Regions from separate parts of the Homo sapiens genome. Here all the other regions are linked to region 1. The links are contacts of gene promoters, found by promoter capture Hi-C in blood cells and fetal thymus (Javierre and others, 2016). All regions are on one chromosome and are shown on one strand. The core of a region is centred on a gene start or on the middle of the fragment in contact, and the rest is flanking DNA. Distances in the headings are between cores, read along the strand shown.

Evidence for each region. Contacts are between HindIII fragments. The CHiCAGO score rates a contact against its expected background, and 5 or more counts as called.
Region 2: the fragment with the promoter of TCOF1 here is called in contact with the fragment with the promoter of MRPL22 in region 1 in 2 of 17 cell types (fetal thymus and naive CD4 T cells); the score reaches 10.8 in fetal thymus.
Region 3: a fragment that was not itself captured here is called in contact with the fragment with the promoter of MRPL22 in region 1 in 4 of 17 cell types (non-activated CD4 T cells, activated CD4 T cells, naive CD8 T cells and 1 more); the score reaches 12.3 in non-activated CD4 T cells.
Region 4: a fragment that was not itself captured here is called in contact with the fragment with the promoter of MRPL22 in region 1 in 6 of 17 cell types (naive B cells, non-activated CD4 T cells, fetal thymus and 3 more); the score reaches 9.9 in naive B cells.
Region 5: a fragment that was not itself captured here is called in contact with the fragment with the promoter of MRPL22 in region 1 in 1 of 17 cell types (M0 macrophages); the score reaches 5.6 in M0 macrophages.

Annotation. Positions count from the first base shown.
Region 1 is chr5:154,938,308-154,944,648 of GRCh38, reverse strand. MRPL22 (mitochondrial ribosomal protein L22) reads right to left here and starts at 3,576. Exons shown (of 7, transcript NM_014180.4): 1 at 3,511-3,576; 2 at 3,384-3,432. The coding sequence starts at 3,538. RefSeq lists enhancers at 3,477-3,636, 6,140-6,189. The HindIII fragment of the contact is 1,041 bases long and covers 2,861-3,901 here.
Region 2 is chr5:150,353,868-150,360,208 of GRCh38, reverse strand. TCOF1 (treacle ribosome biogenesis factor 1) reads right to left here and starts at 2,512. Exons shown (of 27, transcript NM_001371623.1): 1 at 2,355-2,512. The coding sequence starts at 2,462. It overlaps LOC105378226 (a long non-coding RNA gene), which reads left to right and starts at 2,789. Exons shown (of 4, transcript XR_944407.3): 1 at 2,789-3,703; 2 at 4,539-4,641; 3 at 5,046-5,234; 4 at 5,929-6,341. RefSeq lists silencers at 2,085-2,304, 2,385-2,724 and an enhancer at 3,325-3,494. The HindIII fragment of the contact is 5,465 bases long and covers 1-5,177 here.
Region 3 is chr5:159,200,000-159,206,340 of GRCh38, reverse strand. RNF145 (ring finger protein 145) reads left to right here. Exons shown (of 11, transcript NM_001199383.2): 2 at 2,685-2,907. The coding sequence starts at 2,724. Among named protein-coding and RNA genes, the nearest start is that of RNF145, 6.4 kb to the left of the region's middle. The HindIII fragment of the contact is 2,049 bases long and covers 1,214-3,262 here.
Region 4 is chr5:151,773,169-151,779,509 of GRCh38, reverse strand. All of the region lies in intron 1 of G3BP1 (G3BP stress granule assembly factor 1), which reads right to left. Among named protein-coding and RNA genes, the nearest start is that of G3BP1, 4.4 kb to the right of the region's middle. The HindIII fragment of the contact is 3,564 bases long and covers 1,461-5,024 here.
Region 5 is chr5:151,800,226-151,806,566 of GRCh38, reverse strand. It overlaps G3BP1 (G3BP stress granule assembly factor 1), which reads right to left. Exons shown (of 12, transcript NM_005754.3): 10 at 6,221-6,341; 11 at 5,698-5,807; 12 at 1-2,682. The coding sequence ends at 2,476. Among named protein-coding and RNA genes, the nearest start is that of G3BP1, 31 kb to the right of the region's middle. The HindIII fragment of the contact is 1,052 bases long and covers 4,091-5,142 here.

The sequences.
Region 1 (6,341 bases), core at 2,327-4,826:
TTTGCCCCCCTTACTATATTGTACACCCCACAATGGCAAGGGATTATTGTCTGTTCCTGTTCCCTGCAAAATCCTCAGTGCTAGAATAGTTCCCAGCTCAGAGCAGGCACTAAATACATATTTGTAGAATCAATGAAAGAATACAGAGACAGGTAAGGTAAGAGGACTGAGTGTAAATAACTATGCCAAAATTTTACACATGGTTGGAAACTGAGGAAAGCTTAAGAGGATATGCCCCCATCTAAAGGGTGGTACAGACAGGCTTGGTGGCTCACGTCTGTAATCCCAGAGACTCGGGAGCCTGAGGTGGGAAGATCACTTGAGCCCAAGAGTGCGAGACCAGCCTGTACAACATAGTGAGACTCTGTCTCCTAAAAAAAAATATTTTTTTGGCTGGGCGTGGTGGCTCATGCCTGTAATCCCAGCACTTTGGGAGGCCAAAGCGGGCGGATCGTTTGAGCCTAGGAGTTTGAGACCAGCTTGGCCAACATGGTGAAACCCCATCTCTACTAAAAATACAAAACTTAGCCAGGTATGGCGGCCTGCACCTGTAGTCCCAGAAAATATTTTGTTTAGATCCTCACTTTGACATTTAACTGTGTAACCTTCAGTAAGTCACAAAACTTCTCAAATGTATGCATCAGTAAAATAGGAGACTTGGAATTCAAAAACTGAAAACTGTCAGTCAGCTAACAAATATAGCCTACAGAGTAATCCCAGCACTTTGGGAGACTGAGGTGGGAGATTACTTAAGCCCAGGAGTTTCAGACCAGCCGGGCAATATAACAGGACTTTGTCTCTACTAAAACTCAAAAAAAAGTCAGGTGTAGTAGTGCACGCCTGTGATCCCAGCTGCTTGGGAGGCTGAGTTGGGAAGATGGCTTGAATCGAGGCTGCAGTGAGCTATGATCATGATACCGCACTCCAGCCTGGGTGACACAGCAAAACGCTGTCTTTAAAAAAAAAAAAATTTTAATATCTATATATATATGTGTGTGTATATACATGTATGTATGTGTATATATGTATATATATGTGTATATATGTATATATGTGCATATATGTGTGTATATATATATATATCCTGCAGAAATGTTTTATTTGGTCAGCAGCAGTTTTCTTAACCTAATTCAATGTTTTTAGATGAGGAATACACTCTACTGACCACCACAGGCCCTCCCACTCTCATTTTACATAGACAACTTCCCTTAGTTTATTTATTTCTAGTCTGGGGCCTATATGCAATTAAGTTTCCTGGCGGCTCATGCCTGTAATCCCTCCAGGCCAAGGCAGGAGGATCACTTGAGCCCAGGAGTTAGAGACCAGCCTGAGCAACACAGCAAGACCCTAAAAATTAGCCAGGTGTGATGGCATGCACCTGTAGTTCTAGCTACTTAGGAAGCTGAGGTGGGAGCCCGGGAGTTTGAGGCTGCAGTGAGCTATGATCACAGCACTGCACTTCAGCCTAGGCACAGAGCGAGACCGTGTCTCCAAAAAAAAAAGGAAAAAAAAGTTTCTCATCACTGAATCAGATTATATGCTAAAATTTTACATGGTTATCATGAACATTATTTATACCTTTCTACTTAGTTTTCTTATGGTCATTTTCCCCACTAGAAAATCCAAAATAAGGATTCACAAAATTATGTAATAACTTCAGAATTGCAAATAGCCTTAGAGATTATCTAGCAAAATCAAACACTCTTGTATCATGACATAGAGGAAAAGACTAAAGGCAAACTGCTTAAGTTTCTTGCTCAGAGCTTCTTAATACAAGTTGGTGCAAGACAATTCAAATCAACATCAAAATACTTGCCTGTGTAAGACCTTATGCTGGAGGTACAACAATAAATAAATGTCCCTACTTCTCCAAGATACACAAGCTAGTAAAGGGCACATACACATATACATGAAGTCATCATAGAAGGCACACATGCTAAAAGGAAGGAAAAACTAATTTCTTTCCGTTTTAGAGAAACCAGTGAAAACTTCCTGAAGGGAAAACATCTGAACAGAGGTTTGAATAATGGGTAGGACTGCTGTTATAGACAAGATGTGAGGGCATAGTAGGAAAAGCCAAGAAGCAAGTAAGTGCAAAGTATATTCAGAAAAAGTAAGTAAATCAGCATGGTTGGGGGAAGAGTGATAGAAGATTATCTAAGAAGAGTACAGACAAATCCTAAGAGCTACTACTTCCTATTTTCTTCTTTAGCCCACCTCTTTATCCCCCTCGGACCCAAAAACTTAGAAAAGGGTTAAATATAATTGGGAACTCAGTAATAATTTATAATAATAAAAACATTAATGGCAACTAGAATTCAGAGTGGGATTATCACATGCCATAAACATACTAAATACTTCATATGCATTATCTTGTTTGAATTTCCTTTTTAAAATCTACTAGAGCTACATAGATGGCATGTGCCTGTAATCCCAGTACTTCAGGAGGCTGAGGCAAGAGAATTGTTTCAGCCCTTAAGTTTGAGACCAGCATGGGCAACATAGCAACACTTCATCTAAAAAAATAAATAAATAAAAATTAAAAAATTTTTTAAATCCTAAGAGATAGGTACTAACATAACGCTCATATCATAAAAGTGATAACTGAAGCTTATTAAGAATAAGTAACTTTTCCAAGATCACAGTTAAAAAATGGATTCATATACAACTCATCTGTCTGCAAAGCCTATGAACTAAACCAAAATCAATGCTAACAAATGGACAGACCAGAAAATTTACAATCAGATTATCAATTTTCAAATACCGATTTTTTATTTTGGGGAGAAATACAGCGACTACTTACCCTAACCTTTAATGAATGCTTTTGTCCTAAGGCTACAGAATGCTCTGGTATAAAGCTTCAAAATTTCCTACAACTGAGTGGCCTTAGGCAAGTTATTTTACGTTTGGGGACTTCAATTTCCTTGTCTGAAAAACGGGTATAGCAGAACCTACTCGTAGAATGTTATGAGAGTGAGTTAAAGCATATAAACCGCTAAACACAATGTCAGGTACGACGTAAAGCAGAGTTGTCCACAACACGGTCCCTGCCCATGTAAGCAAGTAATCAGAGAGGTAACTTGAAAAGTTGGACGCTTCCATATGGAGATGGAATAGTCTAACCTTGTCCAGAAAGATCACAGTAGACGTTCGGAAATCGCATTTACAATCGCCCTTGGGTTATGGGTAATCCTGATCCCTGTACAGTTTATGCAATAAGGTGGAGAAAAAATAGAGTGACAAAGCAGAGACTCGGGCTGTCTCATTCGCCTCAGTAACCCCAGAGCCTAAAACACAGTTAGGCACGGAGGCGCTCAGTTACCAACTGGCAGAATACTAAAGATGCCTTGGGCCCTTCCGAAACTCCGAAGCGAGAGACTCACCCCAAGGCCAGCTTCCCCCGGCTCCTCAGGTTATGTATCCATAACGCACCTGCAACATCAACACAAGCCGTCAACTCAGATTCCATCTCGACTCCCTTCTGTCGCTTAACCACTAAGAAATCCTTACCCAACTGTCCCAGTACTGCCGCCGCCATCTTTCGCCCTCCCGCTACGGAAGCCGCCGAGTTCAAGCGCCTTCTGGACAGCACGCATGCGCAATACTCTGGATTTCCTGTGGGGCTCTCCCACAAGCAGTACTTACACCCCAGGTGCCGTCACGAAGATCGCAAGCACTGGGCCGGCGCTCGAGGTGTGGTCAGGCGAACCTGGCTTGGGAATGAATTAATTAATAAAGGCCGAAAGCACGTGGGCTTCCGAAAATTCACCTGGATTCAGAAAAACTAAAGTCCCAACTCACAAACTAGAAAGGAGTAGGGGAACAGAATCCGTGAACAAGCCACCTAATCCGGTGGTCCTCAGTTTTCTTATCAGAAATGACTAACCTTAGGGCACAAGCTTGTTGTAAAGATCAGTTGAAATAGTGTGAAAGCTATTTTATTTCATTTTATTGAAACAGGGTCTCTCTCTCGCTTAGGCTGGAGTGTGGTAGCAATGACCTAGTCTCACTGCAGCCTCGACCCCGGGCTCAAGCCACCCTCTTACCTCAGCCTCCCAAGTAGCTGTGACTACAGGCGCACATCACCACGCCCGGCTAATTTTTGTATTTTTTATAGATAAGGAGTTTCCCCAAATTGCCCAGGCTGATCTCGAATTCCTGGGCTCAAGCAATCTGCCCTCCTCGGCCTCCCAAAGTGCTAGGATTAGAGGTATGAGCCACGAAACCTAGCCTAAAATCTCTTTTAAAGAGCAAATAGTTCAAATATGATGTATGCTGTCCTAATCCCTACTAATCTGGTTGACCTTCAAGAATGAGTTTATATTCATCTGGCATTTACTGCCTTATGTCAGGCAGGTATTTCACTAAATCTCATTTATTCCTCACAGCAATCCAACAAGGCATGGATTATCATTTTCCTTCTTCAAATGAGGAAACATATTTAGGATATGTTAAAGTCTCTCAACTAACAACTGGCAAACCAGTGATCAATCTACGACTAGGTGCCTCCAAATTTGTGCCCCTAGACGCCTTCAAATATATGTATTTGACCCCTCTGTATTAGAATAACAGGTAGTTCAGATTGCGGTTTGCTACCTATGCAGGAATGTCAGATACCCAATGCAAACAAGCAACACACGAGTAGTGCAGAATCTGAGCATTTTAGCATTTTTGAGTTGAAAGGAAACTTTCTTCCACACCATTTACCACATACAGCTTCCTTCACACAGCTGGCCCTCAATCAAGCAAATCAAGAGTCACTCCATTTGCTTCTCCTTCATCTTTGAGTACCCAGAACCCAGAGCCAGAATTTCCACCCAGTTGCAGAAACTGTTCTTTCCCTTTTTAATTCCAGATTCGTACTTTCATATTTTTGTTTGTTTTGTTTTTTTGAGACAGGGTCTCACTCTATTGCCCAGGCTTGAGTGCAGTGGCTCGATCACAGCTCACACCAGCCTGTCTCCCGGACTCCATATTGTAATGCCCAACCTTGTTTTTACTAACCCTGTTTTTAGACTCTCCCTTTTTCCTCTGATCACCTAGCCTTGTTTCCACTTGAATTGACTCTTGCTTAGCTAAGAGAGCCAGACAGACTCCATCTTGGCTCTTTCACTGGCAGCCCCTTCCTCAAGAACTTAACTTGTGCAAGCTGACTCCCAGCACATCCAAGATGCAATTAACTGATAAGATACTGTGGCGAGCAATATCCGCAATTCCCAGGAATTCGTCTGATTGATAGCACCCAAAGCCCCCAGTCTATCACCTTGTAATAAATAGTCTTAAAGCCCCTGCACCTGGAACTGTTTACTTTCCTGTAACCATTTATCCTTTTAACTTTTTGCCTACTTTATTTCTGTAAAATTGTTTTAACTAGACTCCCCTCCCCTTTCTAAACCAAAGTATAAAAGAAAATCTAGCCTCTTCTTCCGGCTGAGAGAACTTTGAGCGTTAGCCATCTCTTGGCCACCGGCTAAACAAATGGACTCTTAATTCGTCTCAAAGTGTGGCGTTTTCTCTAACTCACTCAGGTACAACAATATTTTTGTTAAGTGGCCTCTTGTGCATATCTTTTTTTGTTTTGTTTTGTTTTTATTTGAGATGGAGTCTCGCAATGTCGCCCAGGCTGGAGTGCAGTGGCGCAATCTCTGCTCACTGCAACTTCCGCCTCCCAGGTTCAAGCGATTCTCCTGCCTCAGCCTCCCTAGTATTTGTTGTCTAGGGATTGTTGCATTTTACTTTTTTTTTTTTTTTGAGATGGAGTCTCGCTGTGTGGCCAGGCTAGAGTGCAGTGGCGTGATCTCCGCTCACAGCAACTTCCGCCTCCCGGGTTCAAGCGATTCTCCTGCCTCAGCCTCCCGAGCAGCTGGGATTACAGGCGCCTGCCACCACACCCGGCTTATTTTATTATTTTATTTTATTTTTGTTTTTTAATAGAGACGAGGTTTCACTATGCTGACCAGGCCGGTCTTTTAACTCCTGACCTCGTGATCCTCCCGCCTCGGCCTCCCAAAGTGCTGGGATTACAGGCGTGAGCCACCGCACCCGGCCTCTTGTGCATATCTTTAAAACACCTCCACAACTAGCAAAGTGCCCTGGCACATAGCGCTCAAAAAACGTTGGACGGGATAGTGGTTGAACAGCTCCAAATAATAAACTGGTAGCCTGGGGCGGTGGTTCCACTAGTCTAATCCTCTAATTTTGTGCCTTTCTGTGGGAAGTGAGAATGCTTAACCTCGGGGCTGTGCTCAGGCAGCACCTGACCCTAGCCAGGGTTGGGGCGGACCTCCTACCGCGGGCTAGGTACTGAGGGCCAGTGCAGCACGCGTGGTCCCGCCCTTCCC
Region 2 (6,341 bases), core at 1,263-3,762, 4.6 Mb after region 1:
GAACTTCAGATTTCTTCTTAACATGGGGACAACAGCGATACCTACCTTGCAGGCTGCTATCTGGTTTGAACAAGACCATCTGTCAGTGCCCAGCAGTGAGCCGGTAACACTAAGATTTCAAGAGTCAGTTTCCCTCTGCTCCACCTCAGGCAAAGTGTCCTCCTTGCTGTCCTCAAATGTGTCAGGCCACCCTGCCTCTAACGCGGCCTTGCTATTCTTCTTGTCTGGAATGTTCTCTCCCCTGTTAACTACACAGCTCACTCCCTCATTTCCTTCAGGTCTCTGCCCAAATGACACCTTCTCAATGAGACTTCCTTGACTACCCTACTTATAATCGAAGTCTGACATCCCTTATCCCCCTTGCCTGCCTTTTATAGCAAGCACCAACTATCATTGGATATACTATATCATTAACTTATTAAACTTTTTCTATTTGTCACCTGTCTGCTCCTACTAGAATGTGTGCTCCATGACGGCAGGATATTTTGCTCCAATGAAGATGGGTACTATCTCTTGCTCCCCTTATCTGTGAAGTACCATAGCTGCGGTAGGAAGAGCAAGTGAGGTTCAGAGAAACTGGGAAAAGCATACATAACGTCTTAGGGCCCATCACCCTTTAGTCCCTCCAGGAGGTTCTGAGAGCAAGCATTAGGAGCAGAGCCTACACCACAGGGCAAAGGGATCTGACTACTTAGGATACTGTCTCACCAGTTCAAAACTCTCCATTGGTTTACCACTGCTCTTCCAAGGAAGATCAAACTGCCCACCAGACCACTCCAGCCAGCCCCTGCCTCCATCTCCCCAGGGGCATCTGGCCCTTGTACTTCACACTTCAGCCACTATGGACGTTTTTTTTTTTTTTGAGATGGAGTCTCGCCTTGTCACCCAGGATGGAGTGCAGTGGCTCAGTCTCAGCTCAGTGCAACCTCTGCCTCCTGGGTTCAAGTGATTCTCCTGACTCAGCCTCCCGAGTAACTGGGACTACAGGTGCATGCCACCATGCATGGCTAATTTTTGCATTTTTAGTAGAGACAGGGTTTCACCATGTCGGTCAGGCTGGTTTTGAACTCCTGGCCTCAAGTGATCCGCCTGCCTCGGCCTCCCAAAGTGCTGGGATTACAGGCGTGAGCTACCGTACCTGGCCTGCTATGGACTTAAAAAAAATTTTTTTTTGAGACAGTGTCTTGCTCTGTTGCCCAGGCTGGAGTGCAGTGGCATGATCATGGCTCATACTGTATCCTCAAATTCCTGGGCTCAAGAGAGTGGACTTTCTCCAGGCCAGTGTGTACACAAGTTCCCTCCCACCACAAGGCATTTACACCTCAGCTATTCCTGACCAGGGCAATCTGCCATCCATCTCTCTTTTTTTTTTGAGGCAGAGTCTCGCTTTATCGCCCAGGCTGGAGTGCAGTGGCACGATCTTGACTCATTGCAACCTCTGCCTCCCGGGTTCAAGCAATTCTTGTGCCTCAGCCACATGAGTAGCCAGGATTACAGGCGTGCGCCAACATGCCCAGCTAATTTTTGTATTTTTAGTAGAAACGGTGTTTCACCATGTTGGCCAGGCTGGTCTCGAACTTCTGACCTCAGGTGATCCGCTAGTCTCGGCCTCCCTAAGTGCTGGGATTACAGGCGTGAGCTACCGTGCCCGGCCCATCCCTCTCATTCTTAACACTTATTGCGGTGCTAAGCATATAGTCACTTTTGTGATTCTTTGATTTGTCTACCTTACTAGAGTGTAAGCTCCAGGAGGGCTGAGAGATGGTGCTCACCATTCGAACACCAGGAAGCACCCTGAGTACCGGATTAACAGTTGAATTAATCAAGTAAGAAATGACTGTACCACGAGTTCGAGTACCAAAGCTGACCGTCTCAGTACAGACAATCGCTAAAGGCCTGAGTTCCAGCTCAACTAAGAGGCTGTAGGGTCCCTTTTCCAGGCGCTCCCCCGAGGGGCTGGTCGCAATCCACCCCCGAGACTCGCAGCAACCTCCTTGCCCCAGGGGGGGCCGCGCAGAGCCTAGCCACGTGGCGGGAGACTTAGGAAACTTAAAATACCCGCTACCAGGAAGGGCGTGGAGGTAAGGGAAGCGGGAATTACAAAGTTCGGCCCCTGCGAGCACACTTTCTGGCCCAACCCACTGCCCGGATGAGGAAAGTGAGGCCCAGGGGAACTGAAGTCGCAGTGGGAAGGCAGAGATTGCGGCTCCTCCGGTACCCCTGGCCGCGCCGTCGAGCACTGCGGGACCCGGCTCCGGGCGCCTGCCGGGTCGCCTGGGGACGGGGCGCGGGCCGCGGGCCGCTGATCTCCACATCTTGCACGCGGCCCTCGCACACGGCCCACGAACGCTTACCTGGCCGCTCTGCTCCTTCACTTCCCGCGCCGCACGCACATAGCCAGCCCGCAGCAGATGGTGGTAGATCAGGGGAAGTAGCTCCCGCCGCTTCCTGGCCTCGGCCATACCCGCGACCCCCGGCCGGCCGGCTACCTGCACGCCCCGCCTTAGTCCCCGCCCGCCACTTCCCTCGCGCCCTTAGACCTCGCGCGCCACACTTCCGGCTCCTCTTTCGCTCCGGCCGCGCGGCGCGCCGGGAAACGTAGTCCCCTCTCCGGGAGTGGCCGGCCCCGCCCCTCAAGGCGAAGGGGGCGGAGACTCGTGATCAACAATACCGCCCATTGGCGCGGAGCATGCGGGGCTAGACAGGGACCCGCCCCCGGGGCCGGCCGGGACTTGGACGACTCTCTTTTAATCCTTCCGGCTGGCTTCTTGAAGAGATTTATCTTCCTTGTTAATTCTCTGATGGCTGGGTCTGCGTTTTACTCATCTCTGAACTCCCTAATCTGGATCTTTCTCTAGATCCGAACTTTGTACTGCCATTACCTGCTCATTTATCCATTTCGCACGGTTTTTGGTGCCCATGAACCAGACACGAATTGCCAGTTTATTCATTGATTCATTCGCTAACTGAACAAATCTGTAATAAGCACCTAACTTGGGCTAGCACCCGGCTAGGCTAGGGGGATTCAAAAGATGCATAATACATGGCAGTTGCCCTCAAAGCTCACAGAGACGACTGTCCGTAACCAAGCAACTATAGTTCAATATCTTGTGTGCCTTGTCAGGGACAGATGCAGCCTATGGGCGCCCCAAGGAGGAGCACCGAACCCCAGAGAGATATCTAAGCTGAGGCATAAAGACACCCGAAATTGCTGGGTGCAAAGGAGAGGACTGGCAGAGGGCACTGCATGAGTCTAGGCATGAGAAAACACCCTGCTATTGCCTGGGAACCCTAAACCCAGAACCCCTAGTCTGCGCTGCTGGGCTGTCCAGGTGGGGTGGGGTGAGGTGGGGAAGAGGGAACAAATGAGGGCACATGAGGATGAAGAAGTAGACAAGGCCTACAACTCCCCCACCCCCAACAGAGTTTGGACTTTGCTCTGAGGGCATTAGATAGTCTCTGACTGGCTTTTCCGAGGAGGTTGACCCTGTTTTGTGTTTTTAAAAGATTGCTAAAACCAAAGCACATACCATTAATACTAAATGTGAGGCTGTTGTAGTTGTTGAGGGAAGGATGGCAGGGAAAAGGTGAGGTAGGCTGGAGAATGTTAGAGTGAGCTGTTCTTAACTTCACCGACCCATTGAGAATCTGAGGGCAGCATGTTTCTTACGGGCGCAGGAGTCCCTAACCCTAGGAGGTCCAGGTATGTGGTTATCTTTGTCTTGAACTTGAATGGAAAATGTTATGTGTCTGTACACATTCAACATTTCCCATTTTCTTGAGCAAATATTTATTGAGTACCTACCATTGGGGATGGAATAGTCTCTACTCCTATAGAGCTTACAGTCTAGTGATGGAATTGTCTCTACTCCAATAGAGCTTACAGTCTAACGGAGGAGACACATACTAAACTAATAGTCATACAATACAGTGTTACAAACAGCGGGTAAGTGCAGGAAGGAAAAGGATAGTGTTTTCTTATGTAATAATATAGTGTTTAAAAGCTGCACTGGAGTCACACTGCCTGGGTTCAAATTCTGGCTTTGCCTCATTAACTAGGTGACTTTGGGCAAGTCACTGTGACTCAGTTTCTTTATCTGTACAATGGAGATAATTATAATTTCTACCTCACTGGGTTGTCATAAGGAGTAAATGAATTCTCAGCAGAAATGCTTAGAGGAGCTCTGAACAATAGCGCTCTCTGTGTGCGTGTGTGCTATTATTGTGAAAGCATATAACAGGAAGGAGGGATCTATTTTTTTCTTGGGAGTTAGGGAAGGATTCCCTGAGAAATTAATGGTTATGAGGAAACCAGAACTGTGTGTAAGGGAGAGTCAGAGAGAAGAAACCTGAGCAGAGGGAAGAACCTGTGCAAAGGGCCTAGGGCAGAAGGTACAGCTGAGAGAATAGACACAAAAAGGCCTTTGTAGCATAGTCCGGAGGGAGAGCAGGGGGACTGGGGAGTGTAGAAGGTGGGCAGAGGGCAGACTCCATGTGAAGGATTGGCCACATCAGGGTTTTTTTTCCTCCATCCTAAGAGCCATTGGAAGCCACTGACGGTGTAAGCCCAAGAGGTACAGGATGAAATCTGAATTTTACTGTGACCTGTGTGCCTGCCCAGTGGAGAGTGGAGTGTGTCTGGTGGGTATGAGTAGATGTGGGAAGACAAGTCAGGGTTAGGAGTGCAGGCAGGCATCCAGGGAGAAGACAGTGTATGTGGGGGGGGGGGGCGGGTGGTAGGTGGCGGGGGCAGCGGGGAGGGTGCTGGTGGCAGTGGAGTTGAAGAGAGTGGAAGGTTCCCAGAGTTAATCAGGAACTAAAGTTTTCACAGAGGTGTGTTGGAATGGGAGGGGAAGGAAAAGGCAATGTCAGAATGGACCTTGAGGTTTCTGTGCAAACAAGTAGGCAGTATTTTTCACTGAGATAGAAAAAACTAGAAGAGGACTGAGACAGGGGGGTGGTTTGATTGAGGAGAGGAGGATGTGGACAGAGAGGTGAAAGTATATATTCTATGTTAGACATCTTGAGCTTGAAATGCCTTACAGTCACCACATGCAGATGTTGAGAAGGTTCTTGGAAACCTGGGTTTGGACGTGGCGTGGAGGTCTGGGCTAGAGATGAAGATGAGAAGTTGTCGATAGACAGATGATAATTGCGGCTGTGGATGAGGAGAAGCTTACCCAGGGAGAAGAATGTGGAGAGAGAAGAGAGATGGCCCAGGATGAAGTTTTGAGGTACATCTACAGATTAGGGCTGTGTACAAAAGGATCTGCCTGCAAAGGCTGATCAGGAGTGGCTGGACAGCTTGGAGAAAGCCCAGGAGAGTGGGCTTATGGAAGGAGGCCAAGGGAGACATTTTAGAAAGCTGGGAAGACTTGATGGAGGGAATGCTCTGAGAGGTCAGATAGGAGGAGGGTGCAGCCCTGGGCTTTGGTTTATGGACAGGCGTGGAGATTGTTGGGGACTTAGGGAGGGCTATTTATGTGTGGCATGATGGAGGGGGTCAGATGGCAGTGGTCTGATGAGTGCAGGAGGGATGAGGGAGGCAGTGGGTCTTTCGAGAAGTTTTTGTATAAAAAGGACGAGAAAGATAAAGTGCTAGGGCCAATATGTATGTTAGGGGAGGTGTGTTTCAAGGTAGAAGAAACCTGAGATTTGTTTAAAAGTGAATGGCAGATCCAGGAGAGAGAGGTTAACCAAGAGTGTAAGAAATAGGGGAGATAATCAGCGAGTAAAGTTCTCTCAAGCATGTGCGAGGGGCTGGGATCAGGCATGTGGGTTGGGGGGGTTCGTCTTGGGGAGGAGGAGGGATGAGTTCTCTAGAACCCAAAAGCAGGAACAAAGAGAGGATGGGTGCAGATGTAGATGTAGGTTTATAGTGGGATGTTAAGGGAGATTTCATTTTGAGCTTCTATTTTTTCTGCAAAGTGGGAGGCAAGGTCTTCTGCTGAGAGTGAAGAAGAGGTGGTGAGGAGTTTGAAAGAATGATCATTCAGAGTGTTGAGAAGCAACTTGCCCACAAAATCCCCAATTGCCTGACAGCCTTGGCTCCCCAGTTGAGGTTGGTGGTCCTTAGTGTATGTGTGTCTCGTCCTGTCCTGCTGAGTGAATTCCTCCATCAGGGCTCACCTACCCAGCTGCAGGCTGGGGAGATGTATGTACATAGTGGGATTTATCCAGGCCTAGGGCTTTGCCAGATGGGTGGGGAAAAAAGGGCACAGGAGTCTAAAGTATTGGCAAAGAGATGCTAAAATTCTGGGTCCTGGGATCTACACTGGGTAGCGAGGGAAGCAAGGCAGATGGATGTTTGCAGGGAGAGAGTGGAATCCTTCACGGGCCAG
Region 3 (6,341 bases), core at 989-3,488, 4.3 Mb before region 1:
TTTCGTCAGTGCCTTTATACATGACCAGCTTGCCACTGACTTGCTAAAATAACATTCACGTATAGAAATAAATGCAACATTTAGTTTCGTTTATTTGGGCGTATTTAATTCTATCCAAAGTCCTTGTTAAAAACATTTCAGTCTCGAGTTGACTATGTAGTAGAGGGGGATCTTGGATATTGTTTTTTATTGACAGCTTTCGGGACCCGGTATTTTCTCTTTATAGAAATAGAAATGTGTCCTGTTTTCTGTTTCTTATTATATTTGTTAGGCAGGAGTGGTGGGTGGAAATAAAGAGGGAACATGTACCATTCTGCTAATGGACTTTTGTAATAGAGATGATCCTCTGTACGGATTAGGGAGTTTTTCTTCCCTAGCAGATCTTGATTTCTAAAGCAGGATTAGTTATTTGTTTAGTTTAAATTTTCTTCTTTACCCGTTTAGGAGCCACAGTAAATGGTGAAAATGGGCACATTTTAAAATAGCAAAGCATTGAAAAAAGAGAAAGGTTCCAAATCAAATGAAATAAATATGGGCTACAAGTGTTAAATCAGTAATAGCTCCTCCCTCTCTTGTTACTTATAAAAACAGAGTAATGATTTATATTGGATTCCAGAATATAGAAAAATAGTTACTTTTCGATGGCAGTATAAAGACTGTCAGTAATACTGTCATCTCAGTACGTGGTGATTTTCAAATATGGTGGCTGGTGGTTTGTGAGAAGATCTATTCAATATTACTTTGAAATAAATTCCCAAGAGGGTATTGGGTTATCAGTTTGCTCACCAAAGTAAGTCTTTCCACTGTAATTCCTGAAGTTATCTAGATGGCTTATACACATTAAAATGCATTAAACTCTTTACCAACAATTTCTGTGAATGTTTTGGTGTATTTTTTCCTGGGATTAGAAAAAATAATAATATCATGGGCTTTGAGAAATTTAGATTCCTCAGTGGTTGGTTTGCAATAAATATTAAAGGTTAGAGATTTTATTTTTCAGTGCATTTTTCCTTCTTAGGACATGATATTTAGTTCTGATTTTCACAATAATATTTTTTCTTATGTAGGAAAATTATGAAAATGATCTTGTTCATGTGAAATAATCAGAATTGCAGTACTTATCTATAAAAATGTTAAATCTATATTATTGGCAGGCTATATATATAAAACATTTGGGTTATGGGAATGGTTGATATATGATTATTGAAAAGCTTTTATTGATAGTGTGCCAAGTTGGGTTGCCTTTAGCTTTTTGACTATCTGAACTAGGAAGCTATGAAAATTGGAGGGTAAGATGGAAATACTGACAAATATTTAACCATAGCATAGCAATCTGTCACTATAATTTTCTGCAGAAATAAATGTTTTCGTTTGTCCTGTAATGTCTGAAATTACTGCTAAAGCTGGAAATGTGTTTAGCTTTCTCAGCAAAATTCTTAAAAGGATATTGTCAGAGCCAACAATCCAGAATTATCTTTACTCTTTAAATTGTTCTTTACCCACTTTTGTTTGCTTTTTTTTTTTTTTTTTTTTTTTTGAGACGGAGTCTAGCTCAGTTGCCTAGGCTGGAGTGCAGTATTGTGATCTCTGCTCACTGCAACCTCTGCATCCCAGGTTCAAGCAATTCTTCTGCCCTAGCCTCCTGAGTAGCTGGGACTACAGGTGTGCACCACCATGCCCGGCTAATTTTTGTATTTTTAGTACAGACGGAGTTTCACCATATTGGCTAGGCTGGTCTCGAACTCGTGACCTCATGATCTGCCTGCTTCGGCTTCCCAAAGTGCTGGGATTACAGGCGTGTGCCACTGCGCCCGGCCTTGTTTGCCCTATTTTATATTTTTTTGGATTAATTTGAAGTTCTACCATATAAAGCAGTATGGCATTGAATTGTCCCTTTAAATAGTAAATTGTCCTGATAACTGCCTTTCATTTCCTCCTCCCCCTGCCCCCCCCCACTACTTATCATGGTCTGTGCAGAGACAGGGGCTGCAGACTCAATGCCTGGCGTCTTCCATGTGCCTGCTTATCTGTGTATCAAGGGAAGAATTTGATGAACACTTGAAGGCAGATTATGGGAATTTTAGACCATATTTAACTTTAAAGATTCAAGGAAATGATATTGTAAATAATGTTCCCTCTACCTGTATCTACATCATGAGTTCTCTGGATTGTAAATTTAGCACTTCAATTTTGATTGTAAGTGAATAAGGAAAAGCATAGAGTACAAGATGCTGCAAACTAAACGTGCAGTTATCAAGTTTTTATTGAATTGCTTAGGCTTTTTCATAGAGTAAATATTCAAAATTCACCCTCTTATGAGCTACATAAATCATAGTTTTATTGGAGTGAGTGAATTTTTCAAGTTAATTTTATACAAGTTACAGTAGTCTTACAGAGTGTTTTGTTCCTAGATTTGGAGTTAGTGGCCTTTTAAAAAATTAGTTTTGAGGCCAGAACATTTAATCAGAATTATAAGATTGGACAGAACTGAATGGGTCAATGTGAAAACACAATACAGAGGTTATTTTATGAATATCTAAAAATAGTAGTTGTGGCTGAGAAGTAGTATACGTTCTCACATAGTTTTGTACAGTGTGTGACAACCTATTAGATTCGTGAAAGGGTATCTAAAAGCGATTTGTGTTGACTTTTTATTTTTATATATTGTGTCTTCTGAATTTTAGGTCTTCTCCAAGAAAAAAAAAAAGAAAAAAAAAAACAACATGGCTGCAAAGGAGAAACTGGAGGCAGTGTTAAATGTGGCCCTGAGGGTGCCAAGCATCATGCTGTTGGATGTCCTGTACAGATGGGATGTCAGCTCCTTTTTCCAGCAGATCCAAAGAAGTAGCCTTAGTAATAACCCTCTTTTCCAGTATAAGTATTTGGCTCTTAATATGCATTATGTAGGTGAGTGTCTACATCACATTTTCTAATCTTCTAGTGAGCATTCTGATTTATGTCTTAGTATCTTTTTGAATTTGGGTAAAATGAAGTTCATTTTCATTAAGATGATAGTGATATAGTTATTGATGAGTGTTTATGAATCTTGATAGTTTTGTCTTATCATTGCACATGAATTATTAAGGCTACAAGAAAGTAAGCAGTATTGGATTTATTTTACTGGATAAAACTGGAAGGCAGAAGAAAACATTCTAGATTTTAATATGATGAAATATAAACAATGAGAAATACTTTTAGAGACATTTGGCCCCTTCTAATTTGTCCTTGTTTTGGGGTTTGGTAGTAATTCAGAAAGTAAGCTTTTTAAAATGCAACATTCTTTATTGTTCCCTGAGATAAACGAAAACATTAACATCAGCTGAAGATAAAGTGTTCAGTTAAATGAAATTTGGGAAATGATACTATAATACTTTGTTCCATAAAAAAAATCCTCCTGGAACTATAATTTTTTTTTTTTTTGCTTGAATCCCCTTTCAAGAAAAATGGAACTATCATTGATATGCTATGGGGTTAGTGGTAAAAATAATGATAAGAGATTGAAGAAATTAAAGTCAAGAAATACAAGCATGAAACAGATAAAATTTACCTAGAATAAAAATCATGATCCTTACTTTTTAGGTTTTGGTTTATTTGTAATGTATATAGCAATATATTTTATTAATGTTGTGATTGCAGAGTTCCAGACATGGTTTGAATGGTACTATAGTGGTTTTGCTAATATTTTATTATTAGAGTTGCCTGTCACAAAATATATCTTTTATAAAGTCATGAAGAGTTGTCCTGTCTCTCTGAGATTTATTTTTATCACTTTCTGGGTTCTAAAACTTAGCCCTGAGAACGTTCCCCTTACATCCCTAAGAGGTAAGCTGTTGTGGAAAGAAGTATGATGTAGTAGAAGAGATGGTGCACTAGAAACAAAACGTTTCGGTTCAGTAAACTCATCTTTTGTGGATAGCACTACCTTGGGAATGTCTCTGAAATGGGAAAGTTCCTTTATGTTGCAAAACACTGTAATTCTCAGCCTTTTATGAAAGGCTTTGTATGTTAGCCAATTTATGGAAAGTAATTCCCGTCAGTTGTAGAACAACTGGGTACTTGGCTTAGATTTTTAGATTAATCAGCAAAGTCATACATACTGTGGTTTTAAAAATGTGCTTATATATTGTTTCTGAATAGGTTGAAATATTTATTATAAAAACAGCTGCCTGATAACCAGGAATATTAATTTTAGAAATTGAATGTTTTCGAGTACAATTGAAGTTCATAATCTGGTTTATAATTTTATAAAGTTAGTTGAGCCATCTTAAATATGCTTACTCCATGCCAAAGTAGAGTAAGCTCAGTGGTTGCATGAACAGATATTTTCAGCTTGAACAATGTTTTGGTTGGAGTTACCTTTGTCAAAATATTACATAGTGTTTATGTAATGCTCCTGTTTACAGAATTTCACCCTCAAATACAAATCAAATTTCACCTTAATAAAATAATGTATCTACATTCAGAAATAAAAAAGCATAAAAAGTATTTAATGAAAAGTATCTCCCTCCCATCTCTGTTACTCATTCGCTGAGTTCTCACTCTGAACACCATGTAGCTTTTATTTCTTTCTGTATAATTCTAGAGATATTTTTATGTATATATAAGTAAATATAAAAAATGTATATTTCCCCCCTTTTTATACAGATGTTAGCATGGTATACATGGTTTTGAATCATGGTTTTTGTTTGTGATGTATGTGGAGCCATAACTACTGCTTTTAGATATTTATGAAATAGAGTTTTGTGCTCTTTTTCTTATGATGACAGTCTGCCGGATCTTAAAGACTCTCTTGAGTAGATATCGAGGCCTCATTTCTCCTCTTCCCGATTGCATTTTACGTTGGCATAGTATCTTCGTATGGATATACCATAATTTATTGAACTAATTACTCCATTGGTGGACATTTTAGATAGCCTACCTTCTGCTATTTTGTACAGCGTTGTGCTAAATAACTTTGTATAGCTATAATTTCAACAAGTACAAATATAACCTGGGGCTAAGTTACTAGAAGCGAAGTTGCTGGGTTAAAGAGTACAGTGGTCCGTCGGTGTATGCTGGAAGTTGGTTCCAGGATGCCCACGTATACCAAAATCTGCGCATACTCAGGTCCCTCAAGTGACCCTGTGGAACTATGTATGCAGAAGGTTGGCCCTCTGTATACGTGGGTTTTGCATGTTGCAAATACTGTATTCCATAAGAGTTTGGTTGTAAAAAATCTACATGTAAGTGGACCCTCACAGTTCCATCCTATGTTGTTCAAGGGTTAACTTATATATATTTGTAGTGTTGACAGATAGTACTTTCCATAGGGTTTTACTATTTTGTACCTCCAAAAACCGTGGTTGAGAGTTCCTACAATCCTATATTATCAAAACAGCCTGTTACCACAAATATTTTGGCTACTCCAATAGGTGGAAAAATTGATTTTTTTAACTCAATGTAGTTTTAGTTTGCATTTCTATTATGAATGAATTGAACATACACATACTTAAGAAAAACCTGTATTTTCTCTTCTGAGAGTTGTCAGTTTATATACCCTGCCCACTTTTCTGTGAGATTCTTTTTTTACCAATTTGTGGGAATTTGGTATACATTAGGGAAATTAATCCTTTGTGATAAGTTGAAAATAGTTTTTCCAGTTTCAACTCAGTGATTTTGCTTATGATTTTTTGACATTTAGAAGGTTTTTAAGCTTTAGTATTTTGAGTCAATTAGAAAAGCCTTCTTTATTCTTGAGTTTATAAAGAATTCTGTTGTATTTTATCTTACTATTTTTGTGGGTTTATTTTTACATTTAAATCTTTGCTTCATTTATCTGTATGAATAGTGTGTTATAGGTATAATTTTATTTTTTCTAGATAACCACACAGTCATCCTCACCTATTTAGTCCATTTTTTTCTCATTATATACTGAATTCTCACATATATTTTGTTTCATTTTTGAACTTCTCTTCCTTTAGTCTGTCTGCCTGTTTGTGAACTATTAACACGCTGTCTTATTTGTTGAGGGTTTAGATTATATTTTACTGTCTAACAGGGTTAGTCCCTTCAGTTTTCTTTATTTCCTCCTCTGAGCTTTTTTTTTATGGTTAGTTTTCTATGTGAATTTAAGAATTGTCTCAAAATTGTCTAGGTCTCATTCCAAAAACAAAGCAACCCATTTGATTTTTTTTAAAATTTAGATTGCATTATTACTAATTTTGGGGGCAGGTGGGGAGGATGGGTTCTTGCTGTGTTGCCCAGGCTGGCCTGGAACTCCTGGGCTCAAGTGATCCTCCTGCCGCAGCCTCCTGACATTTATTGTTTCTAGGTATTTTATCTTTTTTATTGCTATCGTAAGT
Region 4 (6,341 bases), core at 1,993-4,492, 3.2 Mb after region 1:
GATCCATGAAACAGAATGGAGTTCACTAACATATCCACATGGACAACTATATTTCCAAGAAAAGTGCAAAGACAATTCAGTGGAAAAAGTATACTCTCTTCAACAACTGGTACTGAAACAATTAGATATCATATGGAAAAAACAAAAAAAAACCAGAACCTCAATTCATGTCTCACACCACATACAAAATTTAACTCAAAATGATTCAGTGTAATCAAAGTGTAAAACCCAAAACTGAACTTCTAAAGAAAACTTGCATGACACTAAGCAAAGATTTTAGACACACCAAAAGCAAATGAAGAAGAAAGCGAATTGATCACGTAGACTGCCTCAAAATTAAAACCATCTGCCCTGCAAAGACACCATCAAAAGAATGAAAAGGCACGCAGGCAAGCCACAGATTAGGAGTAAATATTTGCAAGGCATTTACCTGATTGATTGACTGACTGATTTTTTTTTTTTTAGAAGGAATCTTCCACTGTCGCCCAGGCTGGAGTGCAGTGGCGCTCACCGCAACCTCCACCTCCCAGGTTCAAGCAATTCTCATGCCTCAGTTTCTCAAGCAGCTGGGATTACAAGCACACACCACCACGCCCGACTAATTTTTGTATTTTTAGTAGAGATGAGGGTTCACCATGTTGCCCAGGCTGGTCTCGAACCCCTGGCCTCAAGTGATCCACCTGCCTCGGCCTCCCAAAGTGCTGGGATTACAGGTGTGAGCCACTGCGCCTGACCCATATCTCTAATTTTTAAAATACCTCTATCCAGAATATATAAAGTACTCTCATGCCTGTAATCCCAGCACTTTGGGAGGCCGAGGAGGGCATATCACCCGAAGTCAGTAGTTCGAGACTAGCTTGGCCAACATGGTGAAACCCCATCTCTACTAAAAATACAAAAATTAGCCGGGTGTGGTGGTGGATACCTGTAATCCCAGCTACTCAGGAGGCTGAGACAGGAGAATCACCTAAACCCAGGAGGCAGAGGTTGTAGTGAGCAGAGATGGCGCCACTGCACTCCAGCCCGGGCAACAAGAGCGAAACACTGTCTCAAAACAAAAAAATTAATAATTAAGTAACCAATCCCATAAAATATGAGCAAAAGACTTAAAGATATTTCGCCAAAGAAATTATATGAATGCCAAATGAAAAATGCTGATCACTAGCAATTACAGAAATGCAAATTAAAACCTGTGAGGTACCACTAAACACCTGTCACAATGACTAAAATTAAAAAGACTGACCATACACACTGTTAGCCAACATACTGGCAGAACTGGAACCCCCCAAACATCGCTGGTGGCAATGTAAAATGGTACAACCACTGTGGAAAACAGGGAGTTTCTTTAAAAGTTAGGCATACATCTACTACATGATCTAAACATTCCCCTATTAAGCATTTACCCAAGAGAAATAAAGGCGTATACCCATACAAAGACTTGTACACAAAGTTCAGAAGCTTTATTTGTAACAGTCAAAAAGCTGGAAACACACAGCTTCTGCCGTTTTTCAATGCCCACCAACAGGTAAACCAAAAAATTGTGATATGCCTACACAACAGACTAGCACTGAGCAATTAAAAAAAGAACATAATGTATTTACAAAAAAATTCTAAAAAACGCAAAGTAATCTACAGTGATAAAAAGATCAAGGATTTCCTGCAGGGAGAAGGGTGGAAGGAACAAGCAAGAAAGAGGGAAAAGGGACATGAGAAAACTTTTGGGGGTAATGGATAGGTTCACAATCTTGATTGTGGTGATGGTTTCATGGGTATACCTTCTTTTAAGAGTCTCCTGTGTCGCCCAGGCTGGAGTGCAGTAGCATGACCATAGGTCACTGCAGCCTCAAACATCTGGGCTCAAGTAATCCTCTCTGCTGCCTCAGTCTTTTGAGAAGCTGGGATTACAAAAGGTGTCTGAAATTATCAGGCAGTACATTTTAAAAACATGCAGTTTATTGTCAATTATACCTCAATAAAGCTATTTTTAAAAATTCCCCATCAATAAAACAGCCTGGAAAGATGTGAAAAAGATCCCTGGAAGGAAGGGAATGGAAGCCCGTATAGAAAAAAAGGAGTCTTAGAGGGCAATGCAAAATGTCAAATGTTAATTCTGAGTACGATAGTATTTAAGTGGTCTTTTTACTTTAAAAAAGTTGTCAAAAACACCAAGGAAAAACAGCAAGTGTTTGTGTGTACTAACTTGAGAATATATTAAATTTTTGTAAATTTTGTTTCAGGATTATGTCATGTATTCAAACATTTGATATCTGGTTCTCTAAATCGTGGGAATTTAGAAACAAAATCTTTTCCCAGAACTGGAGTAACATGAATACAGAAGCCAACATCTGTGCTCAGAGCAAGAAAAGTATCAACATCACTGGGCCTACTGTCAATCTATTTTTCCAAACTCTTCGCATTTACCACCTGTCACCTCCCTTCACAATTCTTCCTGACGCCTCCTTGGAGAAATGGTTGATTCTGGACCTGAGACAGGCAAAATGCAAGATGAGCCTGAAATACCTGGTAATTAATGAAAGAAAAAACATGCTTTTAAAAAACAGATAAGATAGGGAAGTGTCAAAAGGACAAAGGAGCCAAAAAAAAAAAAAAAAGCTGGAACAACATGAACAACAAAATAAACTGTGGCCAGCACAGTGGCTCACACCTGTAATCCCAGCACTTTGAGAGGCCAAGACAAGAGGATTGCTTGAGCCCAGGAGTGTGAGACAGCCTGGACGATATTTTATAAAAATATAAAATAAATAATAATCAAAAATAAGTAAACATCAGCAAGGATAATTGTGGATTACAACCCAAAGAATAAAATTAATATCCGTGGTCTATAGTGATATAAATGAAAAAAAGAAAAAACATGAAGAATACACAAATCTTCCTCACAGAAAATTTATACTGTAGAAGGAATGAGGAAAATAAAAAAAATCACCATTAGAACCCCGAAGTAATAATAGCTGCAGACGAGATCCATTAAAATGCTAAAATTAAGGAGGGGAACTTTATTTCCATGGCTTCGAAGCATCTCCCCCAAAATAATAACAGTAGCTTTAATATACTTCCACAAATTCACATTCTCCTCCCTCTAGAAAGTAGAGCCTAATTCCCCTCTCTCCTTGAGTGTGAGCTGGACTTGGTGACTAGCATCTAAGGAATAGTATCTAAAGGGGAAAAAAACACTAACCTGACAGATACCACCTGAACCAAATCATCAGGTTAAATTCAACCAGTTATATATTATGGACCCCCAATCTGATGTGATAAGGGTAATTTCTGTGGTATTCTTCCCCCAAAAATCTGTAACTTCAGTCTAATCCTTAACATCAAATCCAAATGAGATCAAGTGTCATGGTCACGAAAGACAAAAGGAAAGACAGAAACTGACACAGATCAGGAGACTACATACAATGTGGCATCTTGGACTGGATCCTAGAACAGAAAAAGGACATTAGTAGAAAAACTAAGGAAATCCAAATAAAGTCTTTCATTAACAGTATTTTATCGATGTTAATTTCTCAGTTCTGTTAAATGTACTTGGATTACATAAGATGTTAACAGTGGATAATGGGTATTCAAGACCTCTCTATTGCAACTCTTCCACAAATCTTACTTTATCTCAAAAATACTGTTTTCCTGAAAGAAAAAAAACTTCAGGAATCAGAATACTTAACAACTATCTTTTATCTTAGTGTATCCCTTCCCCACTCCAAAGTTAAAACCTACTCAGGTTCACAATTTAAAAAAATCTTTGTTCTTTCTCATCACGTGAAAAGATATGTTACAGTTAATACTAATGCTCATCCGCAAAATTCTTAAACAGATCAAGACAGGTGGATACACTCCAGGGAAATCTAGGCAACCTCAGTGCAGAAACAAGGGTGTACTTAAGGCACAGCCTATGGCTTTGCATAAACAGCATATGGGAGAAGCCTGCAAGGGCAGGCAGGTGTCACATTCATACATTCCAGATTCAAAATCCCTCTAAGATTTTTCAATTAAGGAAATAAGCTGGCTATAGTACCCTATTAGGTACCACATGCTTTTCAAAATAGTTTTGACAATTCGGTTTCAGAGCTCCAATTCACTTTTTAGTAAAAGTATGGTAATACCAAAGATGTGTGAAAGCACTCTCTAAATATGCAAAAGGTTACACAAATACATAATGATGCTTTATATAGCCAGTGAAGTTAATAGCCACCAAAGATTACATCCCTACTAAGTAGATGTGTATACCATCCAGGAAGCCAAATTTCTGTCAATCATCTTTAATCTTTACTTTTGATTAAGTACCTAAGATACAACACACATACCAAGAACTTATTACATGACAGACTGGCCACCTGACAGAAGAGGGACTCTATCACAAAGTCGCCTAAAGACCTTATTTACTAAGCTACAGGCTGTGAGGGCAATTTTTTTGAAATTGCTTTCCACCTTGTAAGACAGAATATTAAGACACTATTCGTGTGTGTGAATTATTCCTACTCTTAACCCTATCACCTGGCTTGCAACTTGACCTTCCCAACTAAAGACAGACAGGATGTCCAAGAATACTTTTTTAAAAAAAGTAAATAGCTGATTTCTGAGATATAAAATTATAAACCTAGTGTGCCACCACATTGTGATCACCAACTACATGTAAGATAATAGTTGCTGAATCTAAATTCAACTCCAGGGCTTGTACTGGAGTACTGGAAGGGCAGTACTGCACTACCAGAGATTTTTCCCACTTGCTTTTGACAAATTACTGGGGGGCGGGCGAGGCTTTCCTTTTTTTTTTTGACCTACCTACTTCCACAATTATCCATTCTTCTTTGTAAAGTCAGTAATAGTTTCGTCCAAGGAAGCCAAAGCACAATATAATTAAACAAACATACAATGCCTATTTAAATTCTGAAAGTTAAAAAAAAAATCAATTTGCAAAATGTTAAAAGACCAAGTGGGCAGTTTTATCAGACTGACAAAAATAAAGAAAAAAAATATAAAATTGGCTTTAGTCACAAATGTAAGCTTTATGTTAAATTTTATCTTTTAACACTAGCCCCATCAGTCCTAAGGACGATATAAAATTCACAAACTTTTACAAAAACTTAAAACTGCCTTCTGCCGTTCACTTTCTATGCAAAATACTAGAACGAGTGGGAAAAAAAAAAACCATAAGTTACAAAAGAAAAACTGCTCTAAGTAGGTCACAAACAAACATTACCAAAATCTCCTAATGTTCCCCTGGTGCAGTGTCAGCTCAGGAACAGCAAACTGAGTTAAACAAAGAACTGTCTACTTTTCTACCTGTAAGAGGTACAAAAGCTTAGACTTTTGTACCGGTAAGCAGCTCCAACAAAACTGACGTATGACTTGGTAGGGATGTAGGGCAGCCTTGCCAAGCCTTACATTACCACAATTTGCTTCAATTCACTTGTTCCTGATAAATGCACAAGTAATCAGTTAGAGCACCAGTTTGTGAAATAATCACGTAATTTTCATGTTCCTGCCCAAGTGATAACCATTTGCCTGAGGCCAAGAACTGTATTTTTTTAATATTTTAAGTAGAAACTAACGAAATTTTCCCTCAATAATGTGTAAGGTAATTTCATTCTATTTTGCCTCAAGCAGTAATAAAATTAGCTGGACTCAAGCTTAAACAGTTTAAATGTAGGTCATTCTAGTGTTTTTCCATTTGACAACTTAAATTGCTCAACTTTAAGTCTAAGTTAAAATGCTAATTCCATAGTTAACCAGTCTGTAAGGGCAAGTAACCGGAATCGCCACACCAGCAAAGTTCCAAGTAAATGTTACTTGGAACATTATTATAATACTGTTATAGAAACATGTTTATAGAAAGGGTTTCCAGAACACGATTATAGAAATCTTTATGTTTATAGAAGTGTTTCTATAACATAGAAGATTTATTTCACTAAGCCAAGGAGTATGTTGGCTTTTAAATAATCTAAAAGATGGTAACTACTAGAAAAATATAAGCTCCAGTCCCTGAAGAAAAGCATCTTGTTTCTGCATATACACAAGAACCCAGCAGAGTAAATGCTAAATAAACGGAGTGTACACAAACTTTCATCCACAGATCTCGACTGTCACAGTTGTTTTTTCCAACACATCTCCAACACCAGTAATTCATCCAGCATGACACGCTCCACAGAGGTCCAAATAGTATACTGTAACTGGGCGCCAACCTTTCTATTCCAATTCCGTATTTTAACCCACAGATGCTAGTGAGATCTTAAATTCGTCGCTTTGCACCTCATTCCCTTCAACTATAAAGTGAATCTTCTCAAGGTCTTTCTGCAAAAGTCTCCTCCAATTAAAAAAAAAGT
Region 5 (6,341 bases), core at 3,367-5,866, 3.1 Mb after region 1:
TGTACAAGGATTCTCAACAGTTCTGATCATGATGCTAATCCTATTTCTTAGGTCCAATACTATCATTCAAAACCTCACAATCATCCCAACTCTGATGACAGAAAGCACTGGGGAAGCTTTCTATTTTCTGAGATTGTGCAGTAATTCCCTGCAACAAATTACAAGCAGCATCAGTATGTATTGCTACCACCTCTCCACATTTACACCAACATACACAACACACACATACATTTGGTACAAATAATAAAAAGTGAAATTACTAATTCCTTAGAGTAGATGTTACTGCAATTCTTGAAACAGATTTCCATTTCCTAGTTTGTTATTTATCTGAGGCTGAGTTTCAAAAGAATGAGTCTTCATTCCAGTTTTCCTAATCCCACAGCTCCACCCACCCACAGGAATAGGGACTATCAGTGTTCTCAATGGGGTTGCTTCATTTTTACACAACATTTGGTATCCTTAGACCCCACCCAATAAATGCCAGATGCATGTCTCTCCAACAACCCTTCCAAATTTCACACATTTCCAAATGTCCTCTAGTATGTGATAACACCAAGCTGAGGATTGCTGCATCTAGTTAATGCCCTTAAGTCTCCAAGTAGGAAGAACTTCTGTTTTGAAATGTATAATTTAGTATTCACTCATGAAGGATAATTTCTAGGCTATCCATAATTTATGACCTTGAAGTTACCACAAAGTAATTTTTTTTTCCAAAGTGACTCAGACTAAACTTTTCTTTCCACCCACCACATGCTTAATATAAGCTACAAAAGTATAAGTTGTATTTCTTCCTATTATCAGTGATCTGGGCCAAAAGTGGTTACCAAAGTTACTTTAACCCTACAAAAAAGCCATGTGATTCAGTTACATTAAGTTTATGTAAAGGAGATGCTGCCAATTTTCAAATATTTGAGGAACTGGAACCAAACTGGTAATACCAACTTCACTGTGGTCTTAACCATCACAGCAAACCTAGAGTTTCTCAGTAATGCAAACCAAATATTCCTATGCTATCCTCAAACGACAGTCCTAAAGATGAATACTGTTAAGAAAATAAATACGCTGAATTTTACAACCTGGTTGCCCTTCAATTAGTAATGACAATCACACAAAAGTTTGTTTCACACGTGTAAACAAAACCTTCACCCATCTCACACACAGCACTCAACAAATAACACATATGTGAAACGAGTATTAGTCTATATTGCCAGATTAAATTTTCTTCCAGAAATATTTTAATAAAAATTGGCCATTTCCAAGTAACACCCACTGCATGCCCATCAATAAAAGAGAACCATAACAAAATAGAAAATTTACCATATGGCTATGATTTTAAGAAAAAAAAAAATGCGGACACGAGCACATGAGCAAAGTCCAATATTAAAGTAACATTCCTTCTTACGGGCTATGATTAGGAATCTGATTAGATACCAGAATAAAAATACAAATGCTGAACTATTTAGGTCAAAGAACCTCTATAGAAGCATCTGTCTTCAAAGGCATTCCAGTTTGAGACTCAATTTTAGAATAAGGCATAACAAATATGTTAACAAAAGACATACACAAAGTGATGAAAGAGGGATTCTATAATTCCCCACATACTCTGAACCTAATAAAACAAATCTAGATTTTTTTTTTAAACAATTGCCAAGACTGAAATCAAAGATAAATAGAAGGCACAACAGTTTTGCTCTGGTTGTTATCTGGGTTTTGGGAATTTTTTTGCTTTTTGTTTTTTTACAAATACAAATTAAACATGAAAAAACTACTTCAAAAAAACTAACAGTTCAAGAAAAGCCTATCAGTTGCATTCTAGACATTTAAAACCTATTATCACAATTTAAATTTCAATGGTAAAAACAGTTAGGTTTTAGAATTGTTTTGTGATCCTTTATCAAAAAAAAATTCTATTCCTTTTATTCAGTTTTTAAACATACCAGTGAGAATCAAAATTGTCAAATTTTCCAATGGCAATTTCTCCACACCAGAAGGTAGTCATGACTCTCAAAGAAGAAACAATTTGGGTTTTTCCTGCCTTCAAAATATTATCAAATCCTGTATTTCTTACAGGCTTTTCAAACACGTAGAAAATAAGAAATATTCCAATGAATGAAACATACCAAATGTCAGTAATATGCAAGACATTCCTTTGGGGAAATGGCTGTAAAAAAAAAAAAAAAATCCAGTCTGTATATGCAAAGTAAGCAAGGAAATTCAGTCTTTTTTTTTGCTTCTTTAAAAGTCCGTTATTCCTAAAATATCATTCCACAAAATTGGAAGTGAAAGACTAAAGGTCAGGAAAGGGAAGAGAGGGAGAGGGAGCACACACCATTAACACACAAAAAAAGTAAAATTATACAAACTTAAGCAGTTTATAACAGACTGGGGTCATACTCCAAGATACCAAAGGCTGTCGAAAATTCACCATTCTGTTGGAACCAGGGTTTGTATGGCTGCATGAAGATCCATGAAGATTCACTGCCGTGGCGCAAGCCCCCTTCCCACTCCAAATCCTGGTTTCTGCACCATGCCTCCACGGGGAGGGCCTCTCATTCCACCACCCAGCCCACCTCGAGGGCCTCCAGGTCCCCGAAGGCGATTATCTCGTCGGTCGCCTTCCCTGGCAGCTCGAGTCTTCTTCTCTTCGACATTCAGACGGACCTCACCTCTGAACATGATGGGCTGTAAGAATCAAGGTGACCAGACTTAAGAGTACTGATGAGCTGGCTATCACTATCAAAGATAAAGAAAGCTGTAATAATGAACCAGCAGAGGCTGGGCACGGTGACTCATGCCTGTAATCCCAGCACTTTGGGAGGCCGAGACGGGTGGATTACGAGGTCAGGAGTTCAAGACCAGCCTGACCAACATGGTGAAACCCCGTCTCTACTAAAAAAACACAAAAATTAGCCAGACATGGTGACACACGCCTGTAGTTCCAGCTATTCAAGGAGGCTGAGGCAGGAGAATTGCTTGAACCCAGGAGGCGGAGGTTGCAGTGAGCCAAGATCACGCCATTGTACTCCAGTCTGGGAAAAAGAGCGAGACTCCGACTCAGAAAAAAAAAAGAACCAGCAGATTATAAATCAGCTAAGTTCTCACAGTTCAGTTTTTTGTTTGTTTTTTTAATGAGACAGAGTTTCACTCGTCACCCAGACTGGAGTGCAACTTGAACCCGGGTGGCGGAAGTTGTGGTGAGCCAAGGTCGTGCCACTGCACTCCAGCATGGGCGACAGAGTGAGACTCCGTCCCAATAAAAAATAAAAAATAAAAAAAATTGCCACCTTCTCCATAGATTTGGAGGCTTAGAATAAAACCTCATCATCACCAGTGTGAAAAGATGGTACTGTACATATTTATGCAAAGTACATATACATTTAAAATAAAAACTTCATTAATTTGACATAAACTTTAATTTGCTCTTTAACACCTCCTGAGAATTTTGGATAGTCTTGGCCTTCGTTTCCTCCTAACAGAGCCAAAGTAGTTAAGGGGCTACGAAACATTTCAATATATTCAATTTATGCTCTTCACCAGCAATGTAATTTTCTAATTTCTTAAAATGAGTATCTAAGAGTACTTACTATGTGTCGCGGAAGTGTTCTATTCAAATTTATTTATTTATTTATTTTTTGAGATGGAGTCTCGCTCTGCTGCCCAGGCTGGAGTGCAGTGGCGCGATCTCGGCTCACTGCAAGCTCCGCCTCCCAGATTCACGCCATTCTCCTGCCTCAGTCTCCCGAGTAGCTGGGACTACAGGCGTCCGCCACCACACCCAGCTAATTTTTTGTATTTTTAGTAGAGACGGGGTTTCACCGTGTTAGCCAGGATGGTCTCAATCTCCTGACCTCGTGATCCGCCCGCCTCGGCCTCCCAAAGTGCTGGGATTACAGGCGTGAGCCACTGTGCCCAGCTCTATTCAAATTTATTAGCTCACTTAACCTTTACAACAACCCTCTGATGGTAGATACCTACTTTAAGGACTAGCAAACTAAGGGCCGGGGAGGTTAAGTAACTTGTCCCATGGGTCACAACACTAATGAGTGATGAAAGGAGAATACAAACCAAGGCCTCCAGGGAAAAATAAGCTTTGAAACGGTAAGCTACACTACAGTATGTCATACACCACGGCAATCAGTCTTACATAAGCTATTTCTGCTCACACAAAAAATTAGTGAAGGGAGCATAGTAGACTTCTATCAATACCATGAAATGAAGGGTGGCCACTAGGCCTAATACATGCTGAATGATGGATTTATCTACAAAGCCTACTGGACATTTCTGGGTTCTTCAGTGGCTTTGGTGAGATAAACCACTGTTCTCTCATTTCTCAAACAGTATTTTGCAGGAGATGCTTCACAAAAATAAATGGTCAAATAATTTGAAAGATAATGTATATTTGCATACTCAGGTTGACATGTTATAACCACAACATTAAACTATGCAGTAAGGCCAGGTGCATTGGCTCGCACCTATAATCCCAGCACTTTGGGAGGCCAAGGTCAGCGGATCACCTGAGGTCAGGAGTTCGAGATCAGCCTGGTTAACATGGGGAAGCCCCATGTCTACTAAAAATACAAAAAAATCAGCTGGGCATGGTGGCGGGTGCCTGTAATCCCAGCTACTCAGGAAGTTGAGGCAGGAGAACTGCTTGAACCCAGGATGTGGAGGTTGCAGTGAGCCAAGATCACACCATTGCACTCCAGCCTGGGTGGCAGAGAGAGACACTGTCTCAAAAAAAAAAAAATAAAAAAATAAAAAACTTTGCAGTATGCCCATTAACATTCTGGAGAATATCACTGATCTGCAGTATTTTTATTATATGGTTTAAAGTACACAATTTTAATTCATAGGGACAGAAAGCAGATTAGTGGCTGCCAGGGGTTGGGAGACAGGTACAAGGAATGACTGCTTAGTGAGTAAAGAGCTTATGGCTTTTAGTAAAAAACTTTTGGAATTAAAGGTAATGGTTGCACAATAATGTGTTCTAAATGCAATTAAGTTGTACATTTTTAAATGGTTAATTTTGTTATGTAAATTTCACCTCAATAAAAAAGTATAGCTTAGTAAATTAATATTATTTATACACTTGTTCTTCTCTACTACTACAAAAAGTAGTTTTTTGCTAGAGGAAGGGAAGCTTTCTTTGGGGATCCCACAGTAAGATTTCCATTCTACAAATTCTTCTATTATTAGAACGTACAGAGTAAGAGTACTGTTAGTAAGGATGGTTCCAAGTAGGTTGACTATATAATTTATCTTCCAAATCCAATTTATTAACTTAAAGAAGAAGCTCTTAATAGTTATTCTCTAAAAACAGCAGTATACCAAAACTGTCCTGGGCAAACTGGCTCTTATCTTAGTTAATAGTTAGAAGTAGGTTTGTATTTCATCTCCTGTATACCAAAAGCCACCACCAAGGAAAGGTAGTTACGTAAATCTCAGTGCACTGATAACTATTCATTTTCTCATTCTCATAATTCATGTTTTCAAAAACTAAGTTACTTAAACATAAGGTTTGTTTTCCTAAACCCCCAGGCAAGTCTTTTAATAATGGTTGAAAATAATGAATAAATTACCTGAACATGTTGGAATAAACTGCACTTTACATAAAGACCCAGCTGTAAAGATATATTCTAAAGAACCAAAACCCTTTTTAAAAAAAAAAAAAAAAAATCAAGACAAAAAGCTGCTTACCCTGTTGCTAAGGACTTTCTGAACAGGCTCAGAATCATCAAACACAACAAAACCAAAATTGGGTAATTTCCCACCACTGTTAATGCGCAACTCCACCACGTTTCCATAACCTGCAAGTGAAACACATTCTCAGATAACTACTTAGACCATTATCTTTAAACATTACATGTACACAGTCCAATACAGTAGCCACTAGATGCATGTGACTACTGAGCACTTGAATTATAAATATAGCTAGTCTGAATTGAGATGTGCCTCTCATAAGTGTAAAATTATGGGAGGCACATTTGGATTTCAAAGATTATGAAAAAGTGTAAAATATCTCTCACAATATTCTTACATGTTGAAATGACAATGCCTTAAGTTAAATGTTATTAAAATTATCCAGTTTCTTTTTACCTTTTTTTTTTTAACCATGACTACTAGAAAATTTATAATTACATATGTGGCTCATTTTCTATTGCTACTGGACAGTGCTAGAGAGACACTAGATGAATTTAGTGTTCAAAACTCAATAACCTACTTTGAAAGAAATCTTTAAGCTCTGATTTGTCCACTTCATGAGGCAGGTTGCCAATGAAGAGTTGGTGACTGTCAGGGTGTCTCACCATTCTTCGGGGTTCAATGTCACCTTGCTCACCAGC